Linked DNA regions of Homo sapiens: regions 2 and 3 are each linked to region 1. Evidence: promoter capture Hi-C in 16 types of primary human blood cells and fetal thymus (Javierre and others, 2016). All regions are on one chromosome and are shown on one strand. Each heading gives the region's core, a stretch centred on a gene start or on the middle of the fragment in contact. The rest is flanking DNA. Distances are from core to core; before and after follow the strand shown.

What was found. The method cuts DNA at HindIII sites, captures the fragments that hold promoters and counts their contacts. A CHiCAGO score of 5 or more calls a contact.
Region 2: a contact is called between a fragment that was not itself captured here and the fragment with the promoter of UTY in region 1, in 1 of 17 cell types (megakaryocytes). The highest score is 6.0, in megakaryocytes.
Region 3: a fragment that was not itself captured here is called in contact with the fragment with the promoter of UTY in region 1 in 1 of 17 cell types (megakaryocytes); the score reaches 6.8 in megakaryocytes.

What each region holds. Positions count from the first base shown.
Region 1 is chrY:13,478,430-13,482,422 of GRCh38, forward strand. It overlaps UTY (ubiquitously transcribed tetratricopeptide repeat containing, Y-linked), which reads right to left and starts at 1,604. Exons shown (of 30, transcript NM_001258249.2): 1 at 1,085-1,604; 2 at 825-888. The coding sequence starts at 1,236. It overlaps MIR12120 (microRNA 12120), which reads left to right and starts at 748; the gene lies at 748-837. The HindIII fragment of the contact is 7,265 bases long and covers 97-3,993 here.
Region 2 is chrY:13,438,881-13,442,937 of GRCh38, forward strand. The region is part of intron 4 of UTY (ubiquitously transcribed tetratricopeptide repeat containing, Y-linked); the gene reads right to left. Among named protein-coding and RNA genes, the nearest start is that of MIR12120, 38 kb to the right of the region's middle. The HindIII fragment of the contact is 1,894 bases long and covers 1,326-3,219 here.
Region 3 is chrY:13,422,242-13,426,517 of GRCh38, forward strand. All of the region lies in intron 4 of UTY (ubiquitously transcribed tetratricopeptide repeat containing, Y-linked), which reads right to left. Among named protein-coding and RNA genes, the nearest start is that of MIR12120, 55 kb to the right of the region's middle. The HindIII fragment of the contact is 332 bases long and covers 1,192-1,523 here.

The DNA.
Region 1 (3,993 bases), core at 354-2,853:
TAATAATTTTTAATAAGCAACATGAAGCTACGTCAGCGCTCTTTACGGTCTATTCCTTGCTAAGGTTTCCGGGTTAATACCTCCACCCTCTTCCCAAGCTTCCCCCTTTATTGCTCCTCCCCCTTTTTACCCGCCATCTTGGCTGATAGGAGCAGCCATTAACTAAACGACAGTGCCAACTTTTCACACAAACAACAAATTCTTCCCACTGTGAGCATGACACCTAAGAAACAAGGTTCCTGAATGGAAAAAGCACACACATTCATGAAATCACATTTGCAGCACTGTGCATCCTAAAAAAGTCAACAAATCACTAAACTTCAGGCTAAACATACACGCATCAGTTTATAGGTCAAATATCTACTGCAAACTCTTCACCGCTGTAACTTACTTGCTACTTACACTTAGGACACCAGGGATATTTTTTTTAAAAAGGCAAAAAAATGTTTAAAATTAGACACCAAGAGCCAAATACCAAAAGGCGAGGGGAAGAAGCAGGAAGTTATGAATTTTGAAAACTGTACACATTCACTATTTGTGACGCTAAAATTCAGGAACAAAAGGCCCTAAAGTAACAGGCATGTGGTGTAGACCCGGTTTAGCCCGGTCCCAAAGCGTCCGATTTTTTTTTTCCTCAGAGTAGAAGGGAGTCTGGAGCAAGGGGCGAAGTATTCCAGAGTACGGGGACAGCAAAGGCAAGAAACACTTTTCCGACCCCTTGGCCATGGAGCAGAGCCAAAATAAATACTGGCTGGGCGGTAAGGAACGCGGGGCCTTGGTAGAGCAAAGTGCGGACCAAAGACTTTGCGTCTGGTTGCTTTTACCTTGCCTAGTAGGGTCTTCGTTCTGGCGCCATCTTCATGAAGCCTCACGAACCCGAAGAGACGGCTGTAGAGAGAGAGACACAGAGCTTGTTAATGGTCTGAGAAAGCCAGTGACTTGCTCCTTCCCGAGTCCAAGAGCGACAGCGACAGATTGGTGAGTGCCAAGCTGAGGATGACCCCGTCATCAACGTGGGCAAGCTGCGTCCAGGCCTTCCCGGAGAGTATCGCCAGCCAACCAGGCGGGTGATGGAGGTGCGTACCTGTCCATGCCACCAAGCGCCTCCCTTTCCTCGACTGTCAGGCTAACAGACTCCTCTTCACTCTCGCGGCTCGCTTTTCCTTCCGCCATTTTCTTTGCCTCATCACCGAAGGCAACAGCGGCGGTAGTGAGCGACACTGCGCAGGATTTCATGGAAACAACAAATTTCCAAGTCCCACGACGATACCCAACCTTAATCGAGTAGTTGAAAAGACGCCTTCAATCGCTGCTTGAGACTGTGACGCCAATTTTATCGCCTCCTCAGCGGCTGCAAGGAAAAAAGCTGAGGCAAAGACTTAAGCTACCGAAGCACGGGCAGCGGAACTCGGCTACCTGGATCACATCTGGGAAACTACAGGGAAGGCAGAAGCTCGCAGTGCTGGAGAGCACAGCAGAATTTCTTAAAATCACAAACTTTGCCAGCACCAGCACAAAGTTGTAATTGTGTCACGGGCGAACCCCACGCAGCCGCCGCGACCTCCCCGCTCCCAACCACTTAGTTGTAGCCAATCTAGGCGACTGATTCGTCTCACGTGATCTTTGTTGACTTACGTCAGGCATTGCTCCACTGTACTCCTAGGCTGCTGGGACCCCGCCCAGCCAGTTCGCCAAGGACCTAGGAACATGACAGAGGCTGACTGATTCTGACCGCTGGTTGGTTGATGGTCACGTCTATGGAGAAAAGGGTAGTCTCTGGGATGGAACAACCTGTAGGTTGTGCTAGTTAAATGCATTAAGATAGAAAATGGAGTGTCTGTGCTGGGTGTTTTTGCAGTTGCGATACGCTTGAAGGGGAAGAGAGCGATGGGAAGGGCGGCATCGGGCATCACCCACGGGGCGCAAATGCGAAAAGAGGACACCATGGACTTTAGGAGAGTCCGTAATGAGGCTCCCACTGTCACAAGCCTTGCGAATGCGAGACCTTGCGGGGCATGGCAGGGAAGCTGCGCAGGCCCTAAACCTTCACCCTCAAGACTTTTGGCCCTAAGGCCTTGTCACCTCCATAGGCTGGTTCTTTGCCCATTTCCTCTCCACTGACCAAGTCTAAAGAGAAGGCATAATATCTTATGACCTCAGTCGGTAAGCCAGGCCCTAGGGAATCAACGTGGCAACTGCATTTATCAGTTCATGATATTATCTAAACAACAAACGATGAGCAAAAAAAAAAAAAAAAAAAAAAGTTACTCCACAAACCCAAAATGTTTATTTCTATTGTGATAATGATAATTCCGTGAGGTCTCAGTAAGAGTAGGAGCTTCTGTGGACAGGAATTATAAGAACAATAATTAAGACCTTCATCACACTTTCAAGATGCAGTAACCCTTAGAAAAGAAAAAAACACCACTTTTTTCTTACTTTCTCAATTGTAACCAAAATTATAAATAATAGGTAAAAGAATTTATTTCTGAACCCCAAATATCTGAGAGAGGTCTTAGTCAATTTAAAAAGTTTATTTTGCAAGACTTACCCATGATACATTTGCCCAAGGTGGTCAGGGCACAGCTTGCTTTTGTACGTTTTAGGGAAACATGATTGGTTCGGTCAGGTAAGAGGGACAGCTCGAAGCGGGGGCTTCCATGTTAGAAATAGATAAGAGACAGGTCGGGCGCTGTGGTTTACGCCAGTAATCCCAGCACTTTGGGAGGCCGAGGCGGGCAGATGACCTAACGTTGGGAGTTTCAGACCAGCGTCACCAACATGGAAAAACCCCGTCTCTACTAAAAATACAAAATTAACAGAGCATGGTGGCGCATGCCTGTAATCTCAGCTACTCTGAAGACTGAGGCAGGCGAATCGCTTGAACCCAAGAGGCGGAGGTTGCGGTGAGCCGAGATGGCACCATTGCATTCCAGCCTGGGCAACAAGAGCAAAACTCCGTCTCAAAAAAAAAAAAAAAAAAAAAAATGTAGATAAGAGACAAGAGTTTGCATGCTTTTGAGTCCTTGATCAGCCTCCTACTGAATACAGAATTTAGTCCGGCTAGTAACTCTGTATTTTTACATAAATAAATAATAAGGCAGAGGAAGCAATCAGATATGCAGTTGTCTCTTGTGCGCCTCACAGGGATAACTTTGAGTTGGGTCTGTCCTTTGTCCACAAGGAATTTCCTTGTGGGCACGTTGTGAGGAACGTATGTAGCTTCTTATCTTTGTACGTATCTTATTTAGGAATAAAATGGGAGGCAAGTTTAGTGACATAGTTCCCAGCTTGACTTTTCCGTTACTTAGTGATTTTGGGATCCCAAGATTAATTTTTTTTTCTCATATTATATGGCATATGTATGTTGAGGAATTGTGTATATTTTTCTATGTAAAGAATCTATAAAAAGTCTCATATATATTAAACGCCTCTGTTGATTACTGTTTTCAAAAGACAAATTGCATAATATTCCATGTATCAAATAGTTTACTGGTTATACCTCCAGATATTAGATATTACAAAAATGTTAATTATTAATGGCATTAGGGGAAATGTTCCTTTATAAGTGAAGAAATGGTATCTTTTTTTAAGTAATAGATTTGCCTCCTCCAAAAATAGGTATTATATATTTAAACTTTGATGTTTAAATGAGAGGACAGTTTAGAACTTCCAGACAAAAAACTATAACACTAGTGAGAGTTTTGGAAATCCCAGCTGATTTTGCTCAGTAACACGTGTTTTCATTGTTATTTTGAAACTAACAACTAACTCTGATTTTATAGATTATAGTCTATCATGTTCTTTACTCATTCCATTTCAGTTGAATCGCTACACCACAGAATATTTTCAGTAGCTGTACTATTGAAAATGTTATATTAATTGTCATAAGTATATTAGTAAGTATATTAATTGTCATAGTGGTGGCCATCACACCAAGAGGTTTTTGATAATATGCATACATTTGCACAAGCAGACATTCAAATAATGTAG
Region 2 (4,057 bases), core at 1,023-3,522, 39 kb before region 1:
TGATTGCTTTAACAAGAGCCTTATTACCAGCAAAAGGGAGGATAGTTAATATCTATATTGATTCTAAATATGCTTTTGCTACCCTCTATGCTCATGGAGACATCTATAAAGACAGAAGACTTCTAACAGCTGCAGGAAAAGAAGTCAAAAATAAAAAGGAGATCCCGCAACTCTTAGATGCTGTTTGGGCACCTAAAAAGGTGGCCATTATACATTGCAAAGGTCATCAAACAGATGGGTCCTATAAATCCATAGGAAATAGGCAGACAGACAAGCAAGGCAGGCAGCTATGGCAACCGCACCACAGGAAGAAGCTTTAATGTAAGTTACCTCTTTTCCCAAAACCATTACCTTTAGAATACAACTAGGCTCAACCCCATGAGAACCCGATGGTAGATTTTACTTAGTTACCCCATGTAAGAGGACTAAAGTATTTATTGGTCTTTGTATGCACCTATCCTGGGTGAGTAGCTTTCCCCACCCAATCTGAAAAGGCCCAAGAAGTAACGTGGGCATTACTAGCACATATTATCCCCAGGTTTGGGGTGCCTTTGACTATCGGGTCAGATAATGACCCAACATTTGTCGCTGAAGTTGTTCAAAACTTATCCCAATTATTAAAACAAGATGGAAGCTGCACACTGCGCACCATCCCCAGAGTTCAGGACAAGTTGAAAGGATGAACCGGACAATAAAGCAACTGTTTAAAAAGTTCTGTCAAGAAACCCACCTAAAGTGGGATCTGGCTCTGTCCATGGTTCTCCTTTGAATCACATGCACCCCAAACAAGCAAACTGGATACTCACCCTATGAAATTCTGTTTGGAAGGCCTCCCCATCTTATTTTCCAAATTAAAGGAGATCTCAAAGAAGTACGGGAACTAACACTGAGAAAGCAAATGCAAGCTTTAGGTACAGCCGTGAGAGAAGTTGCAAAGCTGGGTGCAAGAAGACTGCCAGTAGGCCTAACTAGCCCAGTTCACCCATACCAACAAACCCAGGGACTCTGGCTGGGTCAAAAACTGGTACCTATCCACATTAAGGCACATATGGAATGAGCCCTTTGTAGTAATCTTATCTACCCCCACTGCTGTTAAGGTTGCTGAAGTGCTTCCCTGGATCCATCATAGTGGGTTAGCCAGCTGCTGCCTAGGATGTGTGGACCAGCCAGCCAGACCCCGACCAACCCACCAAGCTAACTCTAAGATGAGGTGCCAACAGAGACCAAACCCAGACCAGCCGACCTCAGACCCAACTGTTAATGAAAAATCGCCAAGCCCTGCTGTAGTCACACAATAAGAAGCTGACTACTCTACACATGACCAAAGCTTGAGGAGTGTTCAATAGATAAGTGGATATGGATAAGTAAGATATGGACTGATATTTCATAAGTAGATAAGTAAATAAGTAGATAAGTAAAGTAGTAAATAAGTAGATGAGTAAAGTAGATATGGACTGATATTTTAATACCTATTGCTCTTCTAGTAATATTTGCTGTACTATTGTTATACTGCCATTGTTGCCAACCCTTGCTTTCAGGAAGAAACATACCCTGCCTGTGCCTAGTGTGAAGATGTTACTCTCTGTTTTGCTTATATTAACTAATATGTCAAACTTACAAAGGGGGCGGAAATACAATTGAGTTTTCTCTGTGCACCCACACTACTTGGGCAAGGAACACACAGGTTAAAACCTTTATATATCAAACCCTTTATAAGCAAACAGGAGCTTCTCTAGGAATTTGTGTACATAACCAGACTACTTATTCAATGTGTGATCTTGGTGATAATCAGCCCTGTGTCTGCTATGACCCCAAACTTCTACCTGGAACTTGGTTCGACATTAGTGAAAGGTCTGAAAAAGGAACTCTTTAAAATTCAACCTGGATACCCTCCACCAATAAACACTGTGTGTATCTGTATTTAGATGCCTGCCAGATTACAAGAACACTCCTTAAAACTGGCTGCTACATTCCTGACTCCAAAAGAAAGTTGACTGTAACCAGTCATATCCCATACTGGATTAGTGATACTCCACAGTCTCAAGACATACATTTCTCCAGAAACCTCTCCATAGATTGGTATAACTATGACAATTGTGTAAGAGGAAATTCCTGTAGCCTCACTGAATTTCTTATTTCAAATCAGATTCACCTAATTGGGCAATAGGCACTGAAGTCCCAGAGGGATACAGTGATGAAGCCACAGAATAGGAGGCAGATCCTAAGCTAAAGAGATGAGGCATTAAATATTCCAGGGTGCAGGCTACCGACAGCACCATATATTTTTATATTATACCATTATATATTTTATATTATTTTATTTTATATTATCAAAAAGACTCAAGCTCACAAACCTCAGCAATGATTTAAAATTTTCAAGTCATTCAGTGAAGAAATTAACCAAGTAGTTTCTGAGCCATCGTTTACCACTAAAAATCTGTCTGTGCAATTAGCTAAGAATATAGCAGGAAATCTAGGAGTTACCTCATGGTAACTGACATGGAGGATAGATGGCATTGGGAGGCAAAAGAATTGCTTCCCCAGGACAACTACACTTTAATTTTCTCTGCCACAAATGCTCCAGAATTAATCCCTACTGGCTCTAGCACTTGGCTTTTAAAGGCTTCTATTACAGGAAGACACTGCATACCTCGTTGGGGGACTACCTATACACACCCAGCAGGCAAATTAGCTTGTTTAGGGCAACAATACTACAATGAAACTACAGGAAAAACTCCATGGCAAAGAGAAAATAAAAAGGGTAAAAACAGTTCAAGGCCATCTCATTTCATCCCATTTTCTAGGTTCCCTTCTTTAAATCACTCTTGGTATCAACTAGAAACACCAAACACATGGTAAGTGCCTGTAGGCCTCTACTGGATCTGTGGTCAGCAAGCCTACAGGCGGTTGCCAGAAAAACGGACAGGAGCTTGTGTATTAGGTGTTACTAAAACATCGTTCTTCCTGTTACCTTTAAAGCAAGGAGAAACTTTAGGGTATCCTATTTATGATGAGCCTAGAAGTAAAAACAAAGGAGCAGTAAAAGATATAGAAATAGGGGATTGGAAAGATACAGATTGCAGAGAGAATAATGAATTATTATGGCCCAGCCACCTGGGTGCAAGATAGATCATGGGGATACTGTACTCCCATCTACATGATTAATCACATCATTAGGTTACAAGCAGTATTAAAAATTATAACTAAAGAAACAACTAAAGCTTTAGATTTATTAGATGTACTATCTACACAGAATGAGAAATGCGGTTTATCAAAACAGACTGGCATTAGATTATCTGCTGGATTCAAAAGGGGTCTGTAGTAAATTTAACCTGATTAACTGTTATTTAGAAATTGATGACAACAGGTAGGCAGTTATGAAATCACTGCCAAACTGAGAAAGTTAGCTCTCGTTCCAGTACAAACCTGGAAAGGTTGGACCCCAGACTCTCTTGGTGGATGGTTTTCATCTTCTGGAGGATTCAAGACTCTCCTTGTAAGTGTAATACTTCCATTAGGCAGCTGTCTAATACTCCCTTGTTTATTGCCTCTCCTGTTTAGGAAGATACAGTCCACTACACCACCCCCCAAATAATGGCACTAAGTATCAGCCATTACCCAAAGAAATCTCATCTCATGAGAAGGTAGAGAATTATGAAACTAACATAGGTTTTCTCCAAAGTAGTTTCCTTTCCCATGCCTCACCCTCTTTACGTTCTACACGGATTATAAAACACACATGTATAGGTATGGGATAGAAGAGCTAGGCTTTAAACATCATTTATAAAAATAACTTGCTGAAGTTTAATCTGACTTCTACTTAGGCACAGGCAAATGATGCCACAGAAAATACTAAGTTCAGCTCCTGGCTGACTTACTCGTGCTTCTCTCTAGAGAAGACACCAAAAATCATGCCCCCCAGGTAGGTGGCTGGTTAGTCAATGATGGGGAAGATTCCCTGAAAGATAGGAACAATCTAAGAAGACAGGCACAGCCACAGGGAGGACAGCAAAGGCTGAGAAAAATTAAGCCAGAGAGCCAGTGTGCTCCCACAAAG
Region 3 (4,276 bases), core at 108-2,607, 56 kb before region 1:
AAACTTCTTATTCAAGTATAACTAAAGTATTTTCAAACATCCACTGAGATTTATTACAATTTGCTTAATATTTTTCTTAAAAACAGCTCATACTATATACCTTATTTTACAAAAAACTTCAACCCTCGCCATGAGAAATAGAAACTGAGCATAAGTAGAAGACAGTATGAAAACACAATAAAATGAACACATCAAAATCCAACTAGCTTCATTTGCCTAGAAGTGATTTCAAGAAATAATAAAAACAAAGTTCAATAAAGAAGGACACTAAAAGACAGGTACTAAAAGACTTCTTGGTTTTCCCAAAAAAACTGAAAGGGGAAAAAAGAATCATTAAAGAGAAGTTGAATAATGTATATCAATTAAGAAAGATAGTATCTCTGAATGAAAAGTAAAAACAACTGATATAAACTCCGTAATGGCAATATCAATGACACAAGATAAAGCAGGTAAAACCATGGAGACTGCTTGGATGAAGAACTAGATCTGTGAGTGTAAGGAAACCAACATAACTAATCAAGAGATCTTGAGACAGAATTCTAAAAAGTAGAGAGCTACAAAGGCAGCTTCAGAGATCTGAAGTGGTTTAAACTCTTCTTAAGAAAATTACCAATATCAGGGAAAAAGCTATTGAAAGAACCAGAGAGAACAATGTCTACAAAACCAAGATCCATAACTACTATCATCAAACAGACTGGAAAAATATGCACATAGAGAGCAGTGAATTAAAGATCTCACCTAAGTGTTTGGGAATTACCAGTATGAGGACTGAGTACTCTTCAGGACCCATCTCAAAATTCTTAAGATAAAACCAGAAGCAGGACTGCATACAGACATTGGGACTCAAAGAATGACAATATGGCAAGTGCCCGTTTTTCCTTGTTGCCTTCTATATGTTACAGACAGGGTATTGCTGAAGGCTCCAACCCAGGCCACTAAAAAAATCCTATTACTCCTAGCCAAAACACCAGGAAAAGAATGGCATAGAAACTGAAAACTTATCCACAACACTGCCAGAAACCACAGGGTAAAAAAAGTACAGTTGCATTCTCCTACACTCCACCACGCACAGACATAATACGGCTGCAATAGGGCTAAAAAGGAAACTGATATTCTTATCCCAATTACCACTAGGAAGCAGACTGCATACCACAATTTCCCAGCAGAGCAGTGTCAGCAGAACAAGCCAAAAGCTTATCTTCCATCCTTTGCTGGCAAAGGGAACTGGTACTCCGGATTCTTCTGGAGTATCAACAAAGAGATGAGTAAATCTTTCATTCTCTACAAAGTAGAAGCAGATTATGGCACAAAGATTCCACTACAGGGTATTTTAGGCAAGGCCGAACCAAAAGCTGACGTACTACCCCTTTGTCATTTGAACCAGGCAGTGCTCCAATTTTTCTAACCAGATGGTGTCAGTAAATAATGAAATTGGAGTTAATTGTATATCTCCATCTAGTGAAAGTAGGCAGTACTCCATTTCACCCAGCAGGATATTATAAAGAGGGCCCTGTGGAGAGATAAGCTTTATTTATGTGGGAGAAAAGAACAGGGGCACTGAAGTTATTTGGAAGTTTGCAACCTCTTTTTTTATACCTGTTAGCAAGGCCCAACAGGAAGTTGTGTCACTACATACTACTAGCATCAACCAGGCAGAATTGGGCAGACCATAGTTGGCATTCTGATTGCCCCAACCTTCCCTTCCATCAGAAGAGCCCAGAAGGGAACTCACCTCAGTTACTACATCCTCATGCTCTAAAAGATAACAATGTCCAGCTTTCACCTAACCCTAAAGAGAGTATCAACAAACTCCACTAGAAACTTCACTATGCACATTCACCCACTTACACAAGAAGGCCTGCTTTAAAAATATAGAGAGAGAATGGCTGGATGTGGTGGCTCATGCCTGTAACTCCATCACTTTGGAGGGCCGAGGTGGACAGATCACGAGGTCGGGAGTTTGAGACCAGCCTGGCCAACGCAGTTAAACCCCGTATCTACTAAATATACAAAAATTAACTGGGCATGGAGGGGCACGTCTATAGTCCCAGCTACTCGGGAGGCTGAGGCACAAGAATTGCTTGAACCCAGGAGGTGGAGGTTGCAGTGAGCTGAGATTGTGCCACTGCACTCCAGCCTGGGTGACAGAGCAAAACTCCATCTCAAAACAAAACAAGACAAAACAAAACAAAAACCACCAGAGGCTGGGCATGGTGGCTCATGTAGGTAATCCCATCACTTTGGAGGCGGGCGGACCAAGAGGTCAGGAGGTCAAGACCATCCTGGCTAACACAGTGAAATCCTGTCTCTACTAAAAATACAAAAATTAGCTGGATGTGGTGGTGGATGCCTGTAGTACCAGCTGCTCAGGAGGCTGAGGCAGGAGAATCGCTTGAACCCGGGGGGCAGAGCTTGCAGTTAGCGGAGACTGCACCACTGCACTCCTGCCTGGGCGACAGAGAGAGATCCCGTCTCCAAAATAAAAAAACAGAGAGAGACAAGAGGACTGCCTAGGCCCAGGAGTTCAAGAGCAGCCTAGGCAATGTACTAAGACCTTGTCTCTAAAAACATAGGAAAAGCTAACAAAAAGAAAACTATGTTCCAGACATCAAAGTGAAAAACAAATTCATGAAATTATAGACTATCAAAAGTAATATTATTCCAATGTACTTAAAGAAAACCCAGTATTCAGTGGATGAAAAGACAAAAAACAAACAGGGAGAAAGTAGTCACAAACCACATATCCCACGAAGTACTAGTAAATAGAATCAATAAAGAACTCTCAAAACTCAGCAGTTTCAAAACAATTCATTAGAATTTAGGCAAAACACAGACACATATACACATTATCAAAAAATGCACTAAAGAGGCAAATAAGCACATGAAAAGATGTTTAATATCATTAGTCACAAATAAAATGCTAATTAAAACCACATTCTGCAACTGGCAAGGAAAATCATTGTTTTAGACTGTGCTCTCCTCTCTCCCAAGCAAGCATAAATACTCTCAGAAAACTTCCCCAGAACCACAGTTTCGAAGGTGAGAGGAGGAAAGTGGATGTAAACATTCTACATCCTCTACCATCTCAGAATCTTCACAGAAAACACACTTTGGTCCTATCCCACAAGAACTACTAGGAATGCCAGAAAGCCTGACCCACCTGGAGTGAACTGGGGACAGACAACAGATTGTGGACCACACTGACTGGTGAAAGAATCCTGGTGAATACTTTGAACTACAAACAGAAGGAGAAACACATTAAAGAGACCAGTTGGCACCAAGGTACTACAAGGGGCACAATATGCAGTAAGGTCCAAATTTCTGTTGAGATTTTCCACAGGGCCTCGATATCCAAAGCAGTCTTTCCCTCGTCTGGAAATGAGCAAAAGGTCAGCATTAAGTTCCAGTAACTATTTAAGTCTTCCCCAGAAGGGGAACATAACAGAGTAGCAATTTAGTTTTGCAGCAGCATTTAATATTTTGTGTTCACTGTAAGTTCCCCAAACTAGGAACCACCTACCTACAGGGCAATGAGTTTGTTCCTGTCCAATGTTTTAGTTCTGGTGGTCACTATGAGTCTTCTCCAAAATGGGAAAAGAAAACAGTCCAGTGTTTATTTGCAATACTAAGTAGTAAAGGTCTAAACCACCAAAGAACACTTGCAAAAACTGGAAGAGGAGGCTATTTCCTCAAAGGTGCAGCATCTACATAAAGTCACAATGATTGCAGAAACTGAAGGAAACAGATACAACCAAAAGAAACCAACAATGCTCCAGCAATGTACCCAAAAGAAGTGAAGATCTATAAGATGTCAGATGGAGAATTCAGAATAACCCTCCTGAGGTTCAGATAATCACAAGAAAACAGAGAAAGAAAAGTAAATGAAACCTGGACAACAAGCCAGGAAAAAAAAATAAGAAAATTGACACGAATAAATAAAAAAACAAACCAAACAGAAATACTAAAAATAAAGAATGCAATAACTGAACAGAAAAAAAAATCAGACACTTTCAAAAGCAGACTTTGAAAAATGAAGGAAGAATTACCAAGCATCAAGAAAGACCATGTGAAATTACACAAAGGTGCAAAAATAGAGGGCTTACAAGAATTATGGGTAATTATCACATAAAAAAAGCCTCCACATAATAAACATTCCTGAAAGAGACAGGCCTAGGATGTGTATTTAGGAAAATAATTTCATAATGCTAGAGAAACATGGCACCACCAAGTAAAGAAGCTCAGCAGTAACCAAATAAATTCGATCCAAAAACAAAAT